Linked DNA regions of Homo sapiens: region 2 is linked to region 1. Evidence: promoter capture Hi-C in 16 types of primary human blood cells and fetal thymus (Javierre and others, 2016). All regions are on one chromosome and are shown on one strand. Each heading gives the region's core, a stretch centred on a gene start or on the middle of the fragment in contact. The rest is flanking DNA. Distances are from core to core; before and after follow the strand shown.

Region 1 (4,441 bases), core at 688-3,187:
AACTGCTTGAACCCAGGAGACAGAGGTTGCAGTGAGCCGACACAGTGCCACTGCACTCCAGCCTCAGCGACAGAGTGAGGCTGTCTCAAAAAAAAAAAAAAAAAAAAAAAAAAAAAAAGAAAAGGAAGAGAAAACAGGCCAGCCCTGAGAACTACAATATCTTTATTTCCTTCCTCACTGGTTTTATTTCTGATCTCTCATGATGGTGCTTGGGATGAACCATTTGGGAAGAAGTGGCAGAGAAAGAGGAACAATGGAAGGAAGAAGACAGGAAAAGAGAAGGAGCGGAAGTGTCACCAAACGGTAAACACCCACAGTCTGCTCTGAAAGAGAGCAGGGGGCAGGGGCCTGAAGGCTGGGACCCTGGCTCCCGGACAGGTCGGAATGGGCATCACCCAATTCATTACAAGCTCCCGGACAGGTTGGATCCCGCGTCACCCAATTCATTACAAGCAAGTTGAAATGTGATCATGTGATTTTAGAATCTCTGAGACTTTTGAACTCAGCAGATTCAGAATTCAGACAAAAAGCTCCTCCTCAAATGCCCTGAGCTGGGGCCAGTGCAGCCCCCACCAATGGGGAATGGACAGGCTGGGGGAGGAATGGTCAGAAAGAGCGACCCAGCTCAGGTGGCCCCCACCTGGCCTTCGTGTGACCCATTTCTGCAGCCTCCTCTGCCAACTCATTGCTTCCCTGGCCTCAGGATGGGACTGCCAACCACATGGCCAGGGACGAAGGCCAGGAGAGAAGCAGACGCTCTGGGGCTGTCAGCCCCCTCCCTGGCCAGCACGCCACAGCATTCGAGGGCTGTAGGCCTCTTGGTGTGTACACGTCCCACTCAACATGGTGACCACAGCACAGCAGAAATACCTCAGAAGGTGGGACGGCAGAAGTTCCTGTCACCCAAGGTCCACCCTGGCATGGTTGGTGAGAACTGCACTCTTTTGGGGCAGAAGTGGTTCTCGGTGGCTGGGGTTCTGTGGGTCCCTCGAGGAGTTCAAGGGACTGTGAGAATTGTCCAGACTTGGCTGAAGATTCCCGAAAGCCTTCAAACTCCCCCCAAGTGCTGCTGTGTTCCCCAGGGTCAGGACATCGGGCAGTGCAGGTGGAACCGCCCTCACGGGGCATGGAGATGCTGGCTTTCCCATCGGACAGGAGAAGGTCGGGGCAGGTCCGTCTCCATTCCAAACTGTCATCACTCAGCCTCTCAGGTGCCACTCGGAGGGAAGCGCTGGCTGCTTCCTCCTGGAGGTCACTCAAAGGCTCTCCCCCCAGCTCCCGCCGGCCTTGCATCTTGGAGCCCCCAGGCCAGCAGAGGCCCGATGGGCAGCTGCTCAGGAGACATGCACGCCGGGGTGCTGGCCGCCCAGGACTGCCCAACCTTCCCCTGCCCTGGAGAGGGCCAGGGGACGCTGCAGGAGTGCCCCGGGCTGCCCAGTGGCTGACGGTGGAAAGTGCCCACGTGCTGCTGTGGAACTGACACAAACCACAGGAATGGCCCGGTCGCCCGGGAGTCCTGGCTTCCTCCCACGCAGGCGGGCGCGGAGTCCGACACAGAGGCGCGTACCAGACCCACGGCAGGTGTGAGAGGGGCGGCCCAAGGTGGGGCTCCTGCTCTGGAGAGAGCCGCGAGGGGGCCTGGGAGGCCCACGCTGGCCAGAGGAGCGAGAGCCGGGCGCCCGCGGGAGTCCCAAGTGGGAAGGAGTGGGTGCGGCGCCCCGGGGCCTCCCGAGAGTCCCTCTCGCACGCGGCCCGCAGAGCAGCCCTGGAACGCCTGGGCCTGGACAGGGCCCGAGGTGGCCGGCTAAGCGCCTGGCCCACGGCTCCCGAGAGTCCCCGCACCCACCTTGGTCGCCGCCTCGGCGGGGCCGCGCGGGACCAGGGCGAGAGAAACCTGCAACCAGCCGTTCCCTCCTGCCTGCGCCGCCCCGTTGCCTGGCAACGGCGTGCGCCAGCTCCGCTTCCGGCGTCCGTCGCCGTGGCGTCAGCACGCATCCGGGGCGAGGCCAGCGCCGGCCCCCGCCGTTCAGGACCCGCCCCGGACCCGCCCTCCCTGCCCCGGGCCGCCTCCGCTGCGGGTGGGATCGGGCTTCCACACTGGCCGAGCCCTGGGCGCCGGGCCGCTCGAGCTTTCTGTCCGTGCTCAGTTCGCCGCCCGAGTGGTTCTTTCTTTTTTTTTTTTTTCTTTTTTTTTTGAGACGGAGTCTCGCTCTGTCGCCCAGGCTGGAGAGCAGTGGCGCGATCTCGACTCACTGCAAGCTCCGCCTCCCGGGTTCACGCCATTCTCCTGCCTCAGCCTCCCGAGTAGCTGGGACTACAGGCGCCCGCCACCACGCCCGGCTGATTTTTTTGTATTTTAATAGAGACTGGGTTTCACCGTGTTAGCCAGGATGGTCTCGATTTCCTGACCTCGTGATCCGCCCGCCTCGGCCTCCCAAAGTGCTGGGATTACAGGCTTGAGCCACTGGGCCTGGCCCTAGAGTGGTTCTTTCTTCCTCACGACGAGCTCCCCAGGTCCGTCCCAGCGCACCCGTCACCCGCAGCCCCTTCTCCCGGCGCCCCGCAGCCTAACTTGCCGCGCCGCCGACCCCTCTGTGGGTGCAGCTGAGCGACGGCCCCTCAGGACCCCACCTGTCCCTGGCGAGAGCCAAGTCCGTCTTGCTGACTCCTGAATCCCAAAACCTCGCCCGCCCCTAACTCGTCCCCATTCCTGGGGGAAGGAGCTGCGGGGAGGCTCCACCCCTCCCTCGCAGGCCGCATGGAGTGCTCCCCTCCTTTGTCACCAGCCAGACCCGGGCAGAGCAGGGCTGACGGACAGCCCCTCTCCAGCCACTGGACGACCAAGGAGCTAGGCTGGCCTCTGGCAGCTCCCCTCCGGGCTTCCAGGCCTTCTGCCATCTGCCCTCACCCCCAGACTCAAGGAGTCAACCTTGACTCCATCTCCTCCCTGGCCTTCCCAGACTGGCCCCCATCACTGCCTCCTCTGGGTAAGGGGAGGGCCTGGCCCTGGTGAAGCCCTGAACCATGCCACCTACTGTCCACCCCCTATCTACCTCAGGCTCGCATTTCTCCCACCCTGGGGCCTGGGGCCCTGCCTGGACTCTGTCCTTGCTTGAATCACCCCTTCCCTCCCTGGTCCTTCTCAGCCAAGCTACAGAACAATTTAATTTTACAAATGACAAGATGAGATCATTCTCTGCACCTTAGACCCAGCCTCCTGTCCCCGCTCCTTCCTGAGGGGCAGAGCAGCCGGGCCATGCAGTATGGAAGCTCTTCGGTCAGACTGCCCAGGACTGGATCTTGGCTTGGCCACCCCAGCACCGCAGTGACCCTAAGGATGGTGATCAGGAGCTGGCTGGGTTTGTAGACCAGGCCTGGGCCTGTCTTGCCAGCTTAAGGGCAGTGTCCGTTCCCACTGCTGCCCCTCATCCACTGCACGTCCTTGCCGTCCTTGAGGCCCAGGGAGCTGGGAGGGGGGCAGGAGGAGTGTTGTCCTTGTGTACAGGTGGGGAAACTGAGGCCCCACCCCAAAGGCCTGCGTGAGAAGCAGAGCTGGGACAGGAGCTGCTCTCCTCGTTCTCTGCAATTCCCCACCCCCGTCTGGGCCTCAGCTTCCACGTGAAGAGCGTGGGGAGCACAGTACTCCCAGGGTGGTTGGAGGATAGAAATGACCCATATGGGTTGAAGAGCTGGTGTGGCAGTTGAACAGCCCCACAGAGATGTCCACATCCTAACCCCTGGAACCTGTGGCTATGTGACCTTACAGGGTCAAAGACACTTTATAGATGGGCTTAAATTAAGGCTCTTGAGAGGAGGAGTGGAGCCTGGATGAGGCATGTAATCACAAAGGTCCTGAGAAGGAAGCAGGAAGGTCAGAGTCAGAGAGGAGACGCAAAGATGGAAGCAGAGCCGGAGTGATACGAGACTGCAGATGCCTCTGGAGGCTGAAGGGACCAGAAAACAGATCTCCCCTGAAGCCTCCAGAAGGCACACCATCCTGCCCACACCTAGAACTGGAGTTGATAAATGCGCACATGCTGTTTTCAACCACTGTGTCGGGGGTATTTTGTTATGGCAGCAGCAGGGAACTAATATGCCTGAGTGACCCCTTGTGACCCACTGAGAAGTGCTGCGTCGGGGAAGCCAAGGTGCAGAGGAAATGGCAGCGGCAACCTTGACATCAGGTGCCCAACCCTGGTTGCAGGAGGAGGTGGGGGCAGCCCAGGTGGCTGCTAGGCCGCTGCTGGCTTCTTGGGCCAGCTTCTGGGCAGACCATCCTGCTTCATGGCACAGCCTGAAAGGCACGAGCTGAGGATAAGGCTTCCAGGTTGGCGATTGGAGCAGGCACTGCTCAAATTGAACTGGCCCAGCTGCTAGGGGAGACTGGGCCGGAGAGGGTGGGTTCCCATTAAAGCCTGGGTGTGGGGGACATTAGCCATGA
Region 2 (4,765 bases), core at 42-2,541, 550 kb before region 1:
CCCGGCTACTCAGAAGGCTGAGGCAGGAGAATCGCTTGAACCCAGGAGGCGGAGGTTGCAATGAGCCAAGATCGCACCACTGCACTCCAGCCTGGCGAGAAAGCAAGACTCCGTCTCAAAAAAAAAAAACAAAAAAAAATCACTAAAAGCTGTGGAACAAGGAGGACACCTTAACTTATATGAAAATTGATCATCTGGGCCAGTTCTGAAGCTTGTCTCAATCCAGATTTGTCAGAAACTGGATCCAGTGAGCACCATCGCCTGCCCCAGACCCAATCAGCCAAGCATGGGGAGAGCAAAGAATTTCGAAGTTTAAAGTGTGCCATGAAGAACTGCTTTGTGTTGGATAAATAAGTTTAAATTATTTGAAATCTGGATTTTTATTTCTTTCTTTGTGTTTTGTGTGGGTTTTCTTGAGACAGGGTCTTGCTATGTTGTCCAGGCTGGAGTGCAGTGGCACCATCTCTGCTTGCTGTAGCCTTGACCTCCTGGGCTCAGGTGATCCTCCTGCCTCAGCCTCCTGAGTAGCTGGGACCACAGGCACGCGCAACCATGCCTGGCTAATTTTTAAAATTTTTTTAGAGACAAGGTCTCACTACATTGCCCAGGCTGGTCTCAAACTCCTGGGCTCAAGCAATCCTCCTCCCACCTCAGCCTCCCAAAGTGCTGGGATTGCAGGGGTGAGCCACAGCACCCAGCCCTCAGAAATCTTTTGTAATGCCCAGTGATGTTTGTAATGTGTTGATAACAGACACCAAGTCAGGGTCTCTCGTTCCTGAACACAAGTGGGACAGAGTCCCAGCCTTCTTGTGGCAGATGTCACCGTGAGGCTGGGCCCTGGACAACAGTGAGTGAGATAAGCCGGGGAGCTTCGACCGGGCCAGGCTGTCGGGGCCTCAGCCCGAGTGTGACCCAGGGCAAGCCAGGGTCAGTCTGCGATGAGCGTCAAGGTTCAGTGTGGACCTGCACTCAGGGCCTGGGACTGTGGGAGACACGTCCGTCGGGGACGAGGCCGAAACAAACAGCCCCAAGCGCTCAGTGGCTTCAGCAGCAAAGGGTTGTCTCCTGCTTGGGCTTTGGTGGGGAGGTGGGATCCACTCCAGAGCTCACTCAGGGCCCAGGCTGAGGCAGCCCCACCTTCCTTAGCCCACCCCGTGCAACCGCAGCCTCTCCGGACGCTGCAACAGGGAGATGCTGCTGGGCCATGGTCAGCCGGGAGGTGACACAAAGGTGGCGCAGGAGGTGATGCGGGAGGTGACACAGAGCTGATGCAGGTGATGCGGGAGGTGACACAGAGCTGATGCAGGTGATGCGGGAGGTGACACAGAGCTGATGCAGGTGATGTGGGAGGTGACACAGAGCTGATGCAGGGGATGTGGGAGGTGACACAGCTGATGCAGGTGATGTGGGAGGTGACACAGCTGATGCAGGAGGTGACATGGAGGTGACACACAGATGACACGGGAGGTGACGTGGGAGTTGATACGAACCCACTGGCCAGGCCCTCGCTGCCGGGGCAGGCAGAGGCAAGGGAGCAGATGAGTGTTCAGTGAGCAGAATCGGGCTCGGGTTCTGGTCAGGGGCATCAGCACAGCCTGGGGCTGGGGCAGCCTCAGCCTTTGGCCGCGCAGGGTCCTGTGGGGTCGGGGGGTCGGGGCACCACTGGCAGGTCCCGGTCTCACAGCCGGGTCCCGCGGCTCCCTCCTCAAAGGGACCCAGAGCCGGGCTCGGGAGCCCCCTTGTGGCCATCTGGCGACACTGCAGGCTCCGCCGGCGCGAAGGTCCAGAGGCTCCCGCATGCCCCAGCCAGGTAGGGTTCTCAGGCAGGTGAGCTTTGTGGGCAGCCTCACCTGCCAGGAATATGTGTGCCCCCTGCCTGCAGGCCAGCCTTGGCCACGGTCCAGTCCCAACATAATATCACTTGGTGAGGCCTACCCTGACCCAAGGCCTGCCTGAGTGGGGTCTCTCTGTGTGGCCCTGCCCCAACCTCCCTGCATCACACTCCACCCCACGCACCTGTGTGATACCTGTCTCCCTCCAGGCGTGGAGCCTCTCCTCCTAGGAGGCATCCCAGAGACACCCCGGGGGGCCGGGGTCACTCAGGTGCACCCCACAGGTGCAGGTTGCAGGTGGGAGAGCAGCACACAGCTGCTGTGTGGCTCCTGCAGTGGGCCCTGCCTCCCATGCTGTGGATTTGGCATCCGGTACACAGGCCCACTGCGCCTCACCATCCCCTCCAGGCCCACCAGCCGTTTCTGTGCAACTTCCCGCAGCAGCCTTGAAAGTGTTCACTGTGGGAACGCAACACGGACCAGCTCTCGAGGAAAGCACCCCCTGGGGCGGATACTCATGAGGGCGGGAGAAAGCTTTCCTCAAGGCTCACGCACTTTGAAACATGTTTCCGATGATCTCCACATTCAGCTTATTTCATAAGCAATGAGTAAAAGTGAGTCGGTCACCTTAGGTCACCTTCAGCCGGGCGAGTGCTGTGGGCCCGCAGGTGCTGCAGGGCAGTGGGAGTGCAGACAGAAAATGCAGACCCCCGGGCATTACTCACCTCTCCAGCTCTGGTCCGCTGTTGTACCACGGGTCTAATCAGGCTGTGTCTGTCTCCTTCTTGAACAGCCCAGAAAATTCATCTGAACAGCCTTCCTACAGCCGCTCCCCACACCAGGTGGCCAGGTGGGAGTTCCAGACCAGAGCTGTCTCCCGGGATGTTGACACAGCAGCCACGTTGATTGGTGTTGGGGCAGCCCCTGTCGGTGTGGCTGGCTTCGGGCCTGGCATTGGAACGGTGTCTGGCAGCTTGTTGGCTATGCCGGGAATCTGTTTCTCAAGCAGCAGCTCATCTCCGATGCCATTCTGGGCTTTGCTGTGTCTGAGGCCATGGGGCTGTTCTGTTTGGTGGTCGTCTTCCTCATCCTCGCCACGTGAGGCTCCACAGGGGTCACCTGCCTGTCCCTGCTGCCCGTCCCTACTCCACGCCATTCCTGGTGATGGGGTATGCTAATTTTTACCATTAAACACACGTTTCTCTCAAAAAAAAATTCTCCCCCACATAAATTTTACTACGAAAACCTGAACCACGGGCCGGTGCTCATCCATATCAAATTTCGCCAGTCGATGGCTTCCGTCGTCGTGAGTTTTCCTTCTCGGCCATTATGACCATCAAGGGCGACTCTGTTTTGTAAAATGTTGCAGCATTGCACTTTGTCCAGAGGATTTGCCAGCAGCAGGTGTGAGTGAGGAGGTGGTCCCTGGGCTCTCTCACTGCTGGGCAGGATGCAGGTTTGGGCAACGCTTGGGAGGAAAACACTGAAAAGTCCAGTAAAGTTACCAAGGTGCAGCAACACAGGAGGGCTCCCCTTCTTCCTCACCTGGGCATGCGGCACCCAAAGGCAGGTCCCTATTCCTGGCTCCCTGGCAGCTCAGGGCACTGGCATGTCTAAGTTCTGGGCAGCAGAGTGTGGGCAGGTGCCTCATGCCAGCTCCTGAGCCCCATCCCAAAGAGACCCCAAAAGCATGCCTCGTCAACCTCCTCCACCCTGGCTGTGCTGCCGCCGAGCCCTGATGGTGCAGCCTGACCTGTGAGAGCAAGATCCACACCCAGGACCCAGGGGCCACGAGTAGGAGGGATCTGTGTCCTGGCAGCCTGGACCACTGCCCAGACTCACCCAGGAGGGAAATGAATGTGTACGTTGACAAACACCACCATCATCCGAGCCTGGGCTATGGCTTGAGTGTCCCCTCCAAAATTCATATGGAAATGTAATTGCCACTATGGCAATATTAAGAGGTGGGGAGCTGGGCGCGGTGGCTCACACCTGTAATCCCAGCACTTTGGGAGGCCAAGGCGGGCAGATCACTTGAGGTCAGGAGCTCAGGACCAGCCTGGCCAACATGGCAAAACCCTGTCTCTACTAAAAAAAATACAAAAAATTAGCCAGGTGATGGCAGGCGCCTGTAATCCCAGCTACTTGGGAGGCTGAGGCAGGAGAATTGCTTGAACCCGGGAGGCAGAGATTGCAGTGAGTCAAGATCGCGCCACTGCACTCCAGCCTGGCGACAGAGCAAGACTCCATCTCAGGCCAGGCGTGGTGGCTCATGTCTGTAATCCCAGCACTTTGGGAGGCCGAGGCGAGTGGATCACGAGGTCAGGAGATCGAGACCATCCTGGCTAACACGGTGAAAACCCCATCTCTATTAAAAATACAAAAAAAAAAAAATTAGCCGGGCGTGGTGGCGGGCACCTGTAGTCCCAGCTACTCGGGAGGCTGAGGCAGGAGAATGCGTGAACCTGGGAGGCGGAGCTTCCAGTGAGCCAAGATCGCGCCACTGCACTCCAGCCTGGGTGACAGAGCGAGACTCCGTCTCAAAAAAAAAAAAAAAAGGTGGGGCCGTTAAGAGGTGATGAGGCCAGGCGGGTTCCACCCTCGTGGAGGGGTTAACGCCATTATCTTGGGGCGTGTTTACTATCTGCACTGTGGGTGGTTACGACAGCAAGCTGGGCCCTCTCTCTCTCACCCTTTCCTGCCCCTGCACCTTCCACGGTGAGCCGATGCAGCACAAAGGCCCTCGCCAGAGCTGGCACCTCAATCTTGGACTTCCAGCCTCCAGAACTGTGAGAAATAAATGTCTTTTCTTTGTAAATTAGTTCCCAGCCTGTGGTATTATTATAGCCACACAAAATGGACAGCCTGTTGCATTGGGGATTATGTTTCCACATAAGTTTTGGAGGGGACGCAAATGTTCAAAGCACAGCGGT

What was found. Contacts are between HindIII fragments. The CHiCAGO score rates a contact against its expected background, and 5 or more counts as called.
Region 2: a fragment that was not itself captured here is called in contact with the fragment with the promoter of CLBA1 in region 1 in 1 of 17 cell types (monocytes); the score reaches 6.0 in monocytes.

Annotation. Positions count from the first base shown.
Region 1 is chr14:104,983,284-104,987,724 of GRCh38, reverse strand. CLBA1 (clathrin binding box of aftiphilin containing 1) reads right to left here and starts at 1,937. Exons shown (of 5, transcript NM_174891.4): 1 at 871-1,937. The coding sequence starts at 1,293. RefSeq lists a silencer at 1,679-2,148. The HindIII fragment of the contact is 10,527 bases long and covers 1-4,441 here.
Region 2 is chr14:105,535,019-105,539,783 of GRCh38, reverse strand. It overlaps the pseudogene ATP5MC1P1. Among named protein-coding and RNA genes, the nearest start is that of TMEM121, 11 kb to the right of the region's middle. The HindIII fragment of the contact is 2,155 bases long and covers 214-2,368 here.